3 separate regions of the Homo sapiens genome follow, and regions 1 and 3 are each linked to region 2. Evidence: promoter capture Hi-C in 16 types of primary human blood cells and fetal thymus (Javierre and others, 2016). All regions are on one chromosome and are shown on one strand. Each heading gives the region's core, a stretch centred on a gene start or on the middle of the fragment in contact. The rest is flanking DNA. Distances are from core to core; before and after follow the strand shown.

Region 1 (4,555 bases), core at 305-2,804, 1.5 Mb before region 2:
TAAATATATATTAAATTATATATTTATATATAAATATATATTAAATTATATATTTATATATATATTAAATTATATATTTATATATATAAATATATATTAAATTATATATAAATAAAACAAATTTTTAGTGATCTTGGTTTGGCAAATATTTTAAAAATAAGACATAAAAAGCATAAAGTCTAGAAGAAAAAACTGATAAATTGCACTTCATAAACATGAAACTTCTGTTCTTCAAAGACATTGTTAAGAAAATAAAAAGGTAAGCCACAGCTGAGAAAACATTTGTAAAATCTGTATCTGACAAAGCCTCACATCTGAACCATATAAATATCTCTTAAAATTCAATAAGACAAAAAAAGTAAAAGTACTAAAAATATTTGAACAAATAATTCCCCAAAGAAGATACAAAGATGGCAAATAAGCACATCGTATGTCCAGTATTATTATCTATTAGGGAAATGCAAATAAAAACCACAAGAGGATACCATTACATATTCACTAGGATGGCTAAAATTAAAAAGACTGACCATACCAAGTCTGAGCAAGCATGTGGAGCAATGGGAGCTCTGAAATACAGCTGGTGGGAATGTAATATGGCACAGTCATCTTATAAAACAATTTGGTATTTCTGTAAAAAGTATAATATACGTCTACCACAGGACCCGGATATTCTACACAGGACCCGGATATTCTACTCCTAGGTCTTTACTCAAGAGAAATGGAAGTGTGTATCCACACAAACACTTGCATATGAATGTTCATAAAAGCTTTATTACAGTATAAGAGCCAAAAAAGGGAAAAACCCAAAGTCTATCAACAGGTGAATAGATTCACAAATTTGGTATATTCAGAAAATGGAATGCTATTCAGCAATAAAAAGGAGCAAACTACTGATAAACACCTCAACATGGATGAACTGCAAAATAATTATGCTAAGTAAAAGATACCAGACCAAAAAAAAAGTACATATTGTATGATTCCATTTATATAAAATTCTGAAAAATAAAAAATAATCTACAGTGACAGCAGATTAGTGGTTGTCTGAGATAGATAAAGGGGGAAGGAAGGGACAGATTACAAAGAAACATGAGGAATCCTGAGGACGATGAGTGTTTATTTTCTTGATTGTGATAATGGTTTCATGCAATCACATATATGTCAAAACTCAGTTAACTGGACGCGGTGGCTCTTGCCTGTAATCCCAGCATCTTGGGAGACTGAGGTGGGCAGATTGCTTAAGCCCGGGAGTTTGAGACCACCATGTAGAAATGGTGAAATCCCATTTCTACAAAAAAATACAAAACTCAGCCAGGCATGGTGGTGTGCACCTGTAGTTCCACCTACTCAAGAGGCTGAAGTGGGAGGATTGCTTGAGCCCAGGAGGTCAAGGCTGCAGTGAGCTGTTGAGTTGTGCTTGTGTCACTGCACTCCAGCCTGGGTGACAGAGTGAGACCATGTCTCAAACACATACACACACACACACACACACACACACACACATATACACACAGACAAATCCTCAGTAATTTGTACACTTTAAGTATGTGCAGTTTACTGAGCATCAACTGTATCTCAACAAAGCTGTAAAACAAAGTGTATTAGCTCGTTTTCATGCTGCTGCTCATAAAGACATTCCCGAGACTGGGCAATTTACAAAAGAGGTTTAGACTCACAGTTCCACATGGCTGGGGGAGGCCTCACAATCATGACGGAAGGCAAGTAGGAGCAAGTCACATCCTACGTGGATGGCAACAGGCAAAGAGAGAGCTTGTGCAGGTAAACTCCCATTTTTAAAACCATCAGATCTTGTGAGACCCATCCACTATCATGAGAACAGCACAGGAAAGACCCACCCCCATGATTCAATCATCTCCCACTGAGTCCCTCCCACAACACATGGGAATTACGGGAGCTACAAGAGGAGATTTGGGTGAGGACACAGAGCCAAACCATATCACAAAGTATTTACTGTGATAAACTCTCCATAAATATTAGCTATTATTATTTTTAATATATGAAGCCTTTAAAACAGTGCTGTGCAATTGCAATCTTTTGGCTTCCCTCGGCCACACTGGAAGAAGAACTGTCCTGGGCCACACATAAAATACACTAACGATAGCAGATGAGCTTAAAAAAAATGCAAAACAAATTTCATAATGTTTTAAGAAAGTTTAAGAATTTGTGTTGGGCCGCAGGCAGCCCGTGGGCCGTGTGTTGCACAGGTTTGCTCTAAAATAAACAGAAAAAAAAAAAAAATGAGAGGAAATCTGTACTACTTCTCTGAAAGGGTACGAGTGATTTACGAATTTATCTCCAGTTCACAAATGGAGAAGAACCTATCAAAGCTTCAAATTCCCTGAGATGTCAGGAAATCTAAGTTATTTCCAGTTCAGAAAGAGGAAAAACCTATCAAGGCCTCAAGCTCCTTGAGATTCAGGAAATCTCCTCACTCCTCTCCACAGCACAGAGAATCCAGTCAGTCATAAAAATGTAACAAGAAACAACGAAAAACTTAAAAACCTAGAAATGCACAATCAGAATGTGACAACATCAAGAAAAGAAACCCTAGGTGTCCAATGCAAGTTTGATGAGTTGGAAAACACCCCAATGTTTCCATAGCACTGGAGAATTTTCTAGTGCTCCAATGGAATAACACGACTTCCTCCTATACCTCTTTCCAGATCAGCAGTCTCCTGATCAGTCATTAATCACCAGAGGTAATCAAGGCATGGGGATAATAATTTAACTGATTACTTATAACTAAGATATTATTCAGTGCTTTCTAAGTATCAGGCATACACTGAATCCTCATATGAGTCCTAAGAGCAAACTGAGGCACAGAGGACAAAATTACCTACCCAAAGTCACCCAACTAGTAGTAGAATCTGAAGTTAAACCCAGGCAGTCTGATGCTGAAGTCTGCGTCTTTACCACAAAACTATACTATACTAAACATACTAGACATGTTTTTCTTACCTTTATAACATGCTGAGCATGAATCCTGTATGTTAGCACCAGTTTTTCTTTCCCCTAAACTGCCTCATGAAAATACTGTAGGAATTGAATTAAGCTACAAATGACAGGCTTTCAGCTAGAAGGTATTTTATAAATTATTACAATTTCTTTAAAAAGTAATTCTATTAGCTTAGAAATCACTAAAATGGTATCCTTAAAATAGATCACCTTCTTTCTGCTTTTACTCAGTTTTATGATTAATTTAGTACCTCTAAAACAAAGTAGTTTTACATATTGAAACATTCCTCACTGGGGAAAAAAAGGCCTATTTGATATTTTAGTACCCAACATTTCTTTTTAAGGCAAATTCCTTTCCTGCATATAAGATACTAAGAATTAATTTTGTTTCTACTAAAAACAAATGAGAAGTCAAATATACATTTCCTCTAGAGTAATTTAACTTGAAATCAGCCTTCACATTTAGAAAAAAGAGCATAAAACTTTTTCATTATCAATGCTACACAAATATTTACTTTCACTATTTAATGATACATTTAATTAATATGAGAGATACATATACATTTGTGTATATATATACACAGATGCAGAAATAGTGGTCAACTTTTTTGTTTCTCATGTGAGACATTTACTGAACACCTGCTATGTGCTAGGCACTGTTACGTGAGATAGAGGTACAGCAGGGAACAAAACAGACACACATTTCTACCCTCATGGTACTTACATTCCAGACAGGTGAGTCAATTAACAAACAAATGGGAAGAACATATATACAGTATGTCAGATGATGATAAATCGAATGAGATAAAACAAGGCTGGAATTAGGAACGCAGTGACTTATGGGTTTGGGGGAAACTGAGAAGAGAAGGGTGGCAGTCGCTCTTTTCAACAATCTGCCTTCAAAGATCTTTTGTTCATATCAAAGAGGGGAATATGTGGGAATGAATGGAAATCTGGTTCACCCCCTGGCCTAATAAGAAAGAATAAACCCAACGAATGGTGAGATATGAGGGACAAGAAGTCTTTTTAAGAGCAAAAAAGTCAGGTGAGTATTCCCTATGTCCAAAAAGGGCTACACGAATAAGCCCGAAGGGGATTATACAGTTATTTAGTTTCTTTTTATAATCTCATGATCTCACCAAAAATAATAATATTCCCACGTCCACCTCCAACTTATATATAATTCTTAAAATAAGAACACAGTTCAAAACAAAAATCACTATTAAATTCCACATTTGATCAAGGAATATGTGCCATGTGACTATCTCAACATAAAGTTTAGTATCTGAAACCAATTCTGTTAGTATAGACTGGTAAAACTAGATAAAAGGAAATATTATGTAATTTTTTAAAGCATAAAAACTAGATAAAGCAAGATTAGGGAAAAACTGCTAGGTTTCTTAAAAAAATCAGATACATGCACACAAAGTTCTAGGTTTTCAAAAACAACTTCTCAAACCGTTCTGACAGAAATTAACATTTTTCCATTAATATATATACAAGTTAGTATGAGAATATACTCGTTTAAAATCAATTTGTCCTTTTGTATGGAAGTAATAACGTAGATAACTACATTATTCTA
Region 2 (4,335 bases), core at 938-3,437:
GCAGTGCCTTCTGTCTGCTTTAGGGTGTGGCATCTGCCATTGGGGAGGAAAAACTGGCATGTGTCGCCTTTTATAGCAGACTGATTTCATTGTGCTGGGGGCCTCTATTTTATAGTCTCTTAGTTCCAATCTTCTAGTTGACTTGCTGAAGCAAATGGAATTAAAAGAGATTTTGACTTCTCTACTAATTTTTTTTTAGTTTCACGATTTGCCAATATGAAAAAATATTTTAAGGAAAAGGGCCATAGCTGAACTTGGTGACTCATTTTCCCTTTTAGGATTAGTTGTGAAAATAAGCCACAACATATGGCTACACTTGTATGAACTGACTTTGATATATTTTATCAATTTGAAAAAATGCACTTTTAGGATGATGTGTACATACTTAGTTTGACTATGTCTAAAAGCATAAATATGTAATTGATTTTAGAATATATGTATATACACACAAAACAGACATATATTTATATTTGCATATGAAAAACTAAAAATTCAACTTCTGTGGTGTAATGCGTATAATTAGTATGTATTTGAATATATAAAGGGAGAAAATCCAGGAAAAAATGTCAAAAAGGCACACTAACAAAGATGTAGTATTCTCTTGGCAAAAACTGATGAATGATTTGGCACGAATTCATCTTATGGTTCTGTTATTCTCTCTAACACACGATGATATATCCCGTTTTCCAGTTGTTTGCGTAGAATTGCAATTTGTTGTTTCTACACTCTATAATGACCCTTGGGTGTGCACCTGATTCCCTCCCCCCGACCCCAATTAGTCACCAGTTTTCCCATCAATCCTTTTCTATTTAGTCATGTAACATATTTACACTTGGTCAAACAAATAACCACTGCTGCAGTGGAAATGAACTAAAATAGTTTTTATGGAAAGCTGAAGAATGAAATAATTTTGGAAAACTATACTCTACCAAAACCGTAAGTATTGTTTCTGCCAGGTTTTAAATGCTTTCTCTCAATGAAAACTGAGTCCACACTAGTACAAGTGGGTCATTGCCTAAGGTTAAGAAGTCTTGCTTTTTAAAATGTTACTAGGGGACAATGCACATATTGAAAACATTAATAACAATGCAAATATTAAAAACATTATAAAATGTTAATAGACACCAATTTTTAAGAGAACAAAGTATGGAACATTTCTACATTAGGACTAGAGTTGACTGTTTTATATTATTATTGAAGTTATATTTATTAAATATAATGTCTATAATATTTTAGTTTCGTTCCACATCTCTTTGAAATGAATGTATATCGAGAGGGTTAACTGTGCACACGAAGCTCTGAAACATGATGAAAGGTGTCATATAGATTTATGAAGATACGAGCTAACCCATAGCTGTCGCTGTTCTGGCACCAAGAGTTAAATGTTCATGTGAAAGTTGGCGCAGAAAACACCACTGTACATACTCCACAGAGGACATCCAAGTGCATGTAAGAAAAATGCTCCTTTGGGAATACGTGGACATATTCCTTTGGAAATACACTGACAAACCTACATACGTGTTTAAGGTGCCTTCAAAAAGAGTTATGTAAACATTCTCTTTGGGGCGGGTGCAGTCAGTCATAAGCATTTATTGAGTACCTACTGGGTACAGGCCATAGGGCTCTCTGACCGGGGCTAACCTTCATTTCAAATCTTTCCTAATTTTGCAGTTGGAAGAAGTTGTGGGAATTACGCCGATGGCCCGAAATCAAGGCAGAGGCGAACGTTCTGAAAATTACATAACTCCTGGGAGAGACCGTGCTTTTGCAGATTGCCTAAATATTTTCTTTCTCCGTCGGCTCCTTGTAACCTCTGAGGCCAATAGACAACTTTGTTTCCCAGCCCTTCTCCCTCTTTTGTCTGCTCGTCAGACTCGTTTTCCACCTTTGTATCGTTCCTTTTAGACGTGAAAACAAACATGCGAACGCCCGGTTGGCAAGGAGACAGCGGCCCGGGGGGAAAGTGCAGGTTCCGGCCGCCCCACGCCGCCGCGCTCCGAGCGGCCGCCGAGCCGCCCCGGCCCCGGCCCCGGCCCCAGCCTTAGCCCAAGCCCGGCTGGGTCCCGCGAGGCTGCGCCGGGGCGGGCGGCGGCGGCCCGGGGACGAGTCCAGTCCGCGTTTTGCGAGTGCGCGGGAGTAATGCGAGCGAAGTGGATAATAGTTGCTCGAGCTCGCCCGCTGCCTCTCAAGCCATGCTGGGCCCGATAGGCTCAGCTAGTCGTGTATTTACCCATATCCGGGCTAGAGAGGAAAAGAGAAAAGTTTCATTTAAACCTGAACTAAAAACTTTCACCATGAAAGCACACAGCAGGAGCAGGCCCAGAGCGTAAGGCGTGCCCGGCCCGGCGCTCCGGCGGGGCCTGCGGAGGGGGAGGGGGTCGCGGCTTCCCGGCGGGCCGCGTGGATGCGCACAGGAGGGGCCGCGGCCTGAAAAGTGGGGGTTATTGTCTCCCCCCGCCCCCCGCCCGGCCTCGCCACGCCGCGGCGATCATGGCCGCGCGGGCAGCAGCGGCGGCGGCGGCGGCGGCGGCGCGGGCGCGGGCGCGGGCAGGCAGCGGCGAACGGCGGGCGCCCCCCGGGCCGCGGCCGGCGCCCGGAGCCCGGGACCTGGAGGCGGGGGCGCGCGGCGCGGCGGCGGCGGCGGCGGCACCGGGACCCATGCTGGGGGGCGGCGGCGACGGCGGCGGCGGCCTGAACAGTGTGCACCACCACCCCCTGCTCCCCCGTCACGAACTCAACATGGCCCATAACGCGGGCGCCGCGGCCGCCGCCGGCACCCACAGCGCCAAGAGCGGCGGCTCCGAGGCGGCTCTCAAGGAGGGTGGAAGCGCCGCCGCGCTGTCCTCCTCCTCCTCCTCCTCCGCGGCGGCAGCGGCGGCATCCTCTTCCTCCTCGTCGGGCCCGGGCTCGGCCATGGAGACGGGGCTGCTCCCCAACCACAAACTGAAAACCGTTGGCGAAGCCCCCGCCGCGCCGCCCCACCAGCAGCACCACCACCACCACCATGCCCACCACCACCACCACCATGCCCACCACCTCCACCACCACCACGCACTACAGCAGCAGCTAAACCAGTTCCAGCAGCAGCAGCAGCAGCAGCAACAGCAGCAGCAGCAGCAGCAGCAACAGCAACATCCCATTTCCAACAACAACAGCTTGGGCGGCGCGGGCGGCGGCGCGCCTCAGCCCGGCCCCGACATGGAGCAGCCGCAACATGGAGGCGCCAAGGACAGTGCTGCGGGCGGCCAGGCCGACCCCCCGGGCCCGCCGCTGCTGAGCAAGCCGGGCGACGAGGACGACGCGCCGCCCAAGATGGGGGAGCCGGCGGGCGGCCGCTACGAGCACCCGGGCTTGGGCGCCCTGGGCACGCAGCAGCCGCCGGTCGCCGTGCCCGGGGGCGGCGGCGGCCCGGCGGCCGTCCCGGAGTTTAATAATTACTATGGCAGCGCTGCCCCTGCGAGCGGCGGCCCCGGCGGCCGCGCTGGGCCTTGCTTTGATCAACATGGCGGACAACAAAGCCCCGGGATGGGGATGATGCACTCCGCCTCCGCCGCCGCCGCCGGGGCCCCCGGCAGCATGGACCCCCTGCAGAACTCCCACGAAGGGTACCCCAACAGCCAGTGCAACCATTATCCGGGCTACAGCCGGCCCGGCGCGGGCGGCGGCGGCGGCGGCGGCGGCGGAGGAGGAGGAGGCAGCGGAGGAGGAGGAGGAGGAGGAGGAGCAGGAGCAGGAGGAGCAGGAGCGGGAGCTGTGGCGGCGGCGGCCGCGGCGGCGGCGGCAGCAGCAGGAGGCGGCGGCGGCGGCGGCTATGGGGGCTCGTCCGCGGGGTACGGGGTGCTGAGCTCCCCCCGGCAGCAGGGCGGCGGCATGATGATGGGCCCCGGGGGCGGCGGGGCCGCGAGCCTCAGCAAGGCGGCCGCCGGCTCGGCGGCGGGGGGCTTCCAGCGCTTCGCCGGCCAGAACCAGCACCCGTCGGGGGCCACCCCGACCCTCAATCAGCTGCTCACCTCGCCCAGCCCCATGATGCGGAGCTACGGCGGCAGCTACCCCGAGTACAGCAGCCCCAGCGCGCCGCCGCCGCCGCCGTCGCAGCCCCAGTCCCAGGCGGCGGCGGCGGGGGCGGCGGCGGGCGGCCAGCAGGCGGCCGCGGGCATGGGCTTGGGCAAGGACATGGGCGCCCAGTACGCCGCTGCCAGCCCGGCCTGGGCGGCCGCGCAACAAAGGAGTCACCCGGCGATGAGCCCCGGCACCCCCGGACCGACCATGGGCAGATCCCAGGTAACCCTCGCGCCAGCCGGGCCTGCTTCCGCCCGGCGGCCTCGCCGCGCCGCG
Region 3 (4,357 bases), core at 309-2,808, 1.5 Mb before region 2:
ATATATTATTTACGAGTTAAATAGGCTTTTGTAGTTTCACCTAGGAATCCAATTATGGCTTAAACTGTTTTTAGTTTAAAGTTTAGTTTATTTTTAGTTTAAACTGTGTTTAAGTCATGATGGATTCCTAGGTGAAACTACAAAAGCATATTTTAATGACTTCCTATTTCTATAGGAAAAATGCCTACCAAATTCCAATGAATTTAGGAATGATTTGTTGCAGATTGCCAAACCAAGTTTTTGTAACTGTCCCTGTTATTCTTATTCTCTTGTGCTTCGATCTACAGCCAACGGTTTTTTTGGTTTTTTGTTTTTGAGACAGAGTCTCGCTTCTTCACCCAGTCTGGAGTGCAATGGTGTGATCTCAGCTCACTGCAATCTCTGCCTCCCAGGTTCAAGCAATTCTCCTGGCTCAGCCTCCCCAGTAGTTGGGATTACAGGCATGTGCCACCACGCCTAGCTAATTTTTGTGTTTTTAGTGGAGATAGGGTTTCACCCTGTTGGCCAAGCTGGTCTTGAAAACTCCTGACCTCAAGCGATCCACCCACCTCGGCCTCCCAAAGTGCTGGGATTACAGGCGTGAGCCACCATACCCGGCCCCAACCCTTTATTTCTCATATGTATTATTCAAACTTTTTAGACCATGACCCACAGTAAGAAATGCCTTTTACATTGTAACCCTATGTATACACCCACCCACCCACACATTTAAAAGTTTGATAAAACATTCTATATGTGTGAAGCAATCTTTTACAAACTATTTTCTAAACTATTTGCCTTTTAAAAAGTGATTGTTACAAAACTTATTATAATAATTATTACTGCCCAATAATGGGTTATGACCTGCTGTTTGTAAAACACTGTCTTACTTTCTTATTAGTGCCTAAGCCTAAAGAGTGTAACATGGTATACTGATCCATTATCTCTGTCAGTTTTCCTTCATTCGCTTGCCATGACTATCTTTGTAACTCAGATGACAGACTTTTTTTGTTTGCTTTTTAAGTTTGGGAACCACTAGCAGTGCAGGTCACTAACAAATGTGGTAGGCATGTAATTTAAATGTATATACTCTCAACTTAATTTATTGTAAAATGTAATGATTCGTGTCCTGTGAGAAAAGTTGTGTACTATTTTCCCACTCTCTTATATGCATTGGCTTTTTGGGAGTCTTGTGGTGTATGTCCTTTTCTTGTGTATTAAGTGGAACATAGAGCATTTTGCTTCTTTTTTTTTGTTACAGGAAAAAGGGCCTTCACTGTTAGAGGAAGCTTTGGGAAGAAATGGTCCTGGAAGCTTATATAATTTAGGAGGCTTTCTTTAAGAAAAGAATACCACATTATAAATGTAAAATTAAGTATCAAAACCATTTATTTGGACTAAGAAAAGGACTGACAAGAAATGACAGATACTTAATGACAAACAGCACAAAAAACAACATCCTGAAAAGTAATAGAATATTTTTTATTTTAAAAGTAAATGAATACATTTTATTTTATTTAGCCTAATATTTAATCGAATTTCCTACTTTCAGACTTCTTTGATAATTTTTCCCTTCCATTTCTGAAAGCAAATTCTTTAGTTTCATCTTCATATGATAATGTTTTAGGAATAACATTCCATAGAGAGAATAGAAAGATAATTTAGTCTTTCTTCTACCATGATGGATTACAGTTTGTTTTTTATTTTTGATAATTTAGAAACATTTCATATAGCTTTCACAACTCATAGTTGACAATGTCATGTAAATTGTTAGGACTGTTCTCAAATTTGGAAACCTCTATTAAGTTTTTGGCACATATGATCTGTTTGTTTTCAAGGCATTTCAAGCTTTCTAGTGCACTATCCTATGTTGAGTACTTTGAATTAATGACAGTCATTAACCAGTTTGTCATAGGTGTACTCATTGTGGTGATGTATTTTGAGTTTATATTTTATTCATTGATATCAATATTTGGTGTCAAAAAATTGGGGTATTTAATTTTTTCCAGTGTATTCACATGACTCACTTGTGTTTATTAATTGTGTTATCAAATAATCCATAAGCCTATCATTATTTTTACTCTATTCTTCTGACTGCATTTGATATGCTGAATGTTTTTGTTGCAATTTACTTCTTGATATTGAAATAATTTCTATTGATTTTATTGCTCACTCTGTTGCTTTTGTGTCTTACTCTATTACTTTTTTATTGACATTTTCTCTCAGTTCTTTAAATACTTGATTTAAAGATAGCAGAAAGAACACTCCATATTCTCCCAACAGGAGTCTGTAATTTTACATTTATTTTACTGAAATGTTCTGAAACATCTTGCCAAATTTCAGTTAAAATGTGTATTTCTAACTCAATTTCCCCTTTAGCTAGATTCCCAAAGTACTCTCCGTCACCAGAATACAACCTGAAAAGAGACAGTGGTCTTGACTGACTAGGGTTAAAATGTCTTGCCTTTGTAAATTTTACAAAAACATATACCATGTGAGTAGATTTCTAGAGCCCTTCCCAAGGCTTGAAAATGGCTTGTTCGAGTGATAGGCCCTGACATTTCAACTTCTCATGCTTCCTAGTTAATCTGCTTGTATACAGGGAGAAAGGCCAGACTGAACAACCTCTTGGGACACCATTATTAGAGACTAGATGTGTCATCAAGGCAAAACAGGGCTTCTCTACAATGCAGAGTCAGTTGTTTGTATTCCCTGAAAATCAGGCCCTGAGGCAAGGGTGTGGATGCAGGTTGTTTGTTTAATTGCCCCTCCTGGAGAGGTAATCCCAGGAAGCACAAGTGAGGAAGTCGGGAAAATGCCATGGGAAAAGGAGAAAGGCCAATTCCAGGGGTTAGGGAGTAGTTTCATGTTAGGGCTCCAGGGCAACTGGGGCTCAATCCCAGGGGATCTTTTGAAAAACCGTGTGCAGCCCAACTCAGCATTGTCCCACCAGAAGCTGGGGAGGCTCCAAAGCCCCCAGGCATGGAAGACAGCAGGGGAGGTGGGGAGCTGTCAGTTTGCCTGGATCACAGCTGCAGATGAACTCAGGAGGACCATACGGATCTGGGGTGGGGCAAAGCCAGGCAGCATCCGCTACCCTCTGTGAATCTTATTCACCTGAGTTTAGGAACTCAGAATTATTTAGAGTGATAAGGACTCTTCAATGTTGTGGATCTTTCTCATGCCATAAAGAGGATTTTGAAGTTAGTGGACAATGTGAAGTCATCCCTAACTTGCCAGAGGAAGTGTTCAAATCCAAGTACTGAAATTCTAGAATCAAGACATTTTGAACCAGAGATGAGTATTCTTTTTTTTTTTTTTTTTTGAGACGGAGTCTCCCTCTGTCGCCCAAGCTGGAGTGCAGTGGCGCGACCTCGGCTCACTGCAAGCTCCGCCTCCCGGGTTCACGCCATTCTCCTGCCTCAGCCTCCTGAGTAGCTGGGACTACAGGTGCCCGCCACCATGCCCGGCTAATTTTTTGTATTTTCAGTAGAGACGGGGTTTCACCATGTTATCCAGGATGGTCTCGATCTCCTGACCTCGTGATCCGCCTGCCTCGGCCTCCCAAAGTACTGGGATTACAGGCGTGAGCCACCAAGCCTGGCCAAGTATTCTCTTTAAACTGAAAGAAGGCATAGTTAGAATTTCTAATTGCCTTTAATTAAATCTATCACCTCCTAAGTATAAACAAAAGTGGTGAAATATTTTTGGATATACCAACAATGAACAGTTCATTAATGAGAATGAATTTTACCTTTCTGACGGTTCCCATTACATAACTTTATTCATTTTGAGGAAGGCAAGGGCTGACCATTTTATGCTCATCTACTATGGTCACCTATTAAAGGCTGGAATTATGATAATCCAAGGGGGAAAATAAAATATTTAAAATGAGATTGGTCTAAGTAGGAGAATGAACATCAGGCTAAGTGTTAATTTTGTCCCATTTAGTCAGCTCCATAAATCTTGAGAAGCCATTTTTCTTCTCTGTGCCTCAGTGTCCTCATCTGTATGTTAGAGGGCTTGGATTGGCTGATCCTGAAGGTCACCTCCAGTTCTGAGGTAGTCCTTGAAAACATGAGGACTGAAGCCTGGCCTAAGGCATGGGTCTTATTGTGGTATTGTGGACTTGACCAAATGTTAACCTTTCTGACCTTCAGTTTTCTCCTCAGAAAAATGAAGGGGCTGGGCTATTCTTTAAGGACACCTCTGTTCTGCAGTCCAGATAAATAAAAGTGTGAGGGGAAAAATCTGGAAAAATGCATAGAGTGAAGCTCAGCATGGCCACTGGGTGGCGATCTTGTTCCATGTTAAGAAAAATTTTATGGCATTTACCAAGAGTTTCAAAGTTTGACTTAGCATAGTGAAGAAAGACTTT

What was found. The method cuts DNA at HindIII sites, captures the fragments that hold promoters and counts their contacts. A CHiCAGO score of 5 or more calls a contact.
Region 1: a contact is called between a fragment that was not itself captured here and the fragment with the promoter of ARID1B in region 2, in 1 of 17 cell types (monocytes). The highest score is 5.8, in monocytes.
Region 3: a fragment that was not itself captured here is called in contact with the fragment with the promoter of ARID1B in region 2 in 2 of 17 cell types (naive CD8 T cells and M0 macrophages); the score reaches 6.0 in naive CD8 T cells.

The regions. Positions count from the first base shown.
Region 1 is chr6:155,305,668-155,310,222 of GRCh38, forward strand. The region is part of intron 2 of TFB1M (transcription factor B1, mitochondrial); the gene reads right to left. Among named protein-coding and RNA genes, the nearest start is that of TFB1M, 6.5 kb to the right of the region's middle. The HindIII fragment of the contact is 1,578 bases long and covers 766-2,343 here.
Region 2 is chr6:156,775,191-156,779,525 of GRCh38, forward strand. ARID1B (AT-rich interaction domain 1B) reads left to right here and starts at 2,188. Exons shown (of 20, transcript NM_001374828.1): 1 at 2,188-4,281. The coding sequence starts at 2,491. It overlaps LOC115308161 (a long non-coding RNA gene), which reads right to left and starts at 3,328. Exons shown (of 2, transcript NR_163974.1): 1 at 3,056-3,328; 2 at 1,170-2,241. RefSeq lists silencers at 1,912-2,261, 2,282-2,521, 2,672-2,821, 2,892-2,961, 3,212-3,441 and 2 more and an enhancer at 3,405-3,940. The HindIII fragment of the contact is 6,833 bases long and covers 1-4,335 here.
Region 3 is chr6:155,323,428-155,327,784 of GRCh38, forward strand. No RefSeq gene overlaps it. Among named protein-coding and RNA genes, the nearest start is that of TFB1M, 11 kb to the left of the region's middle. The HindIII fragment of the contact is 534 bases long and covers 1,292-1,825 here.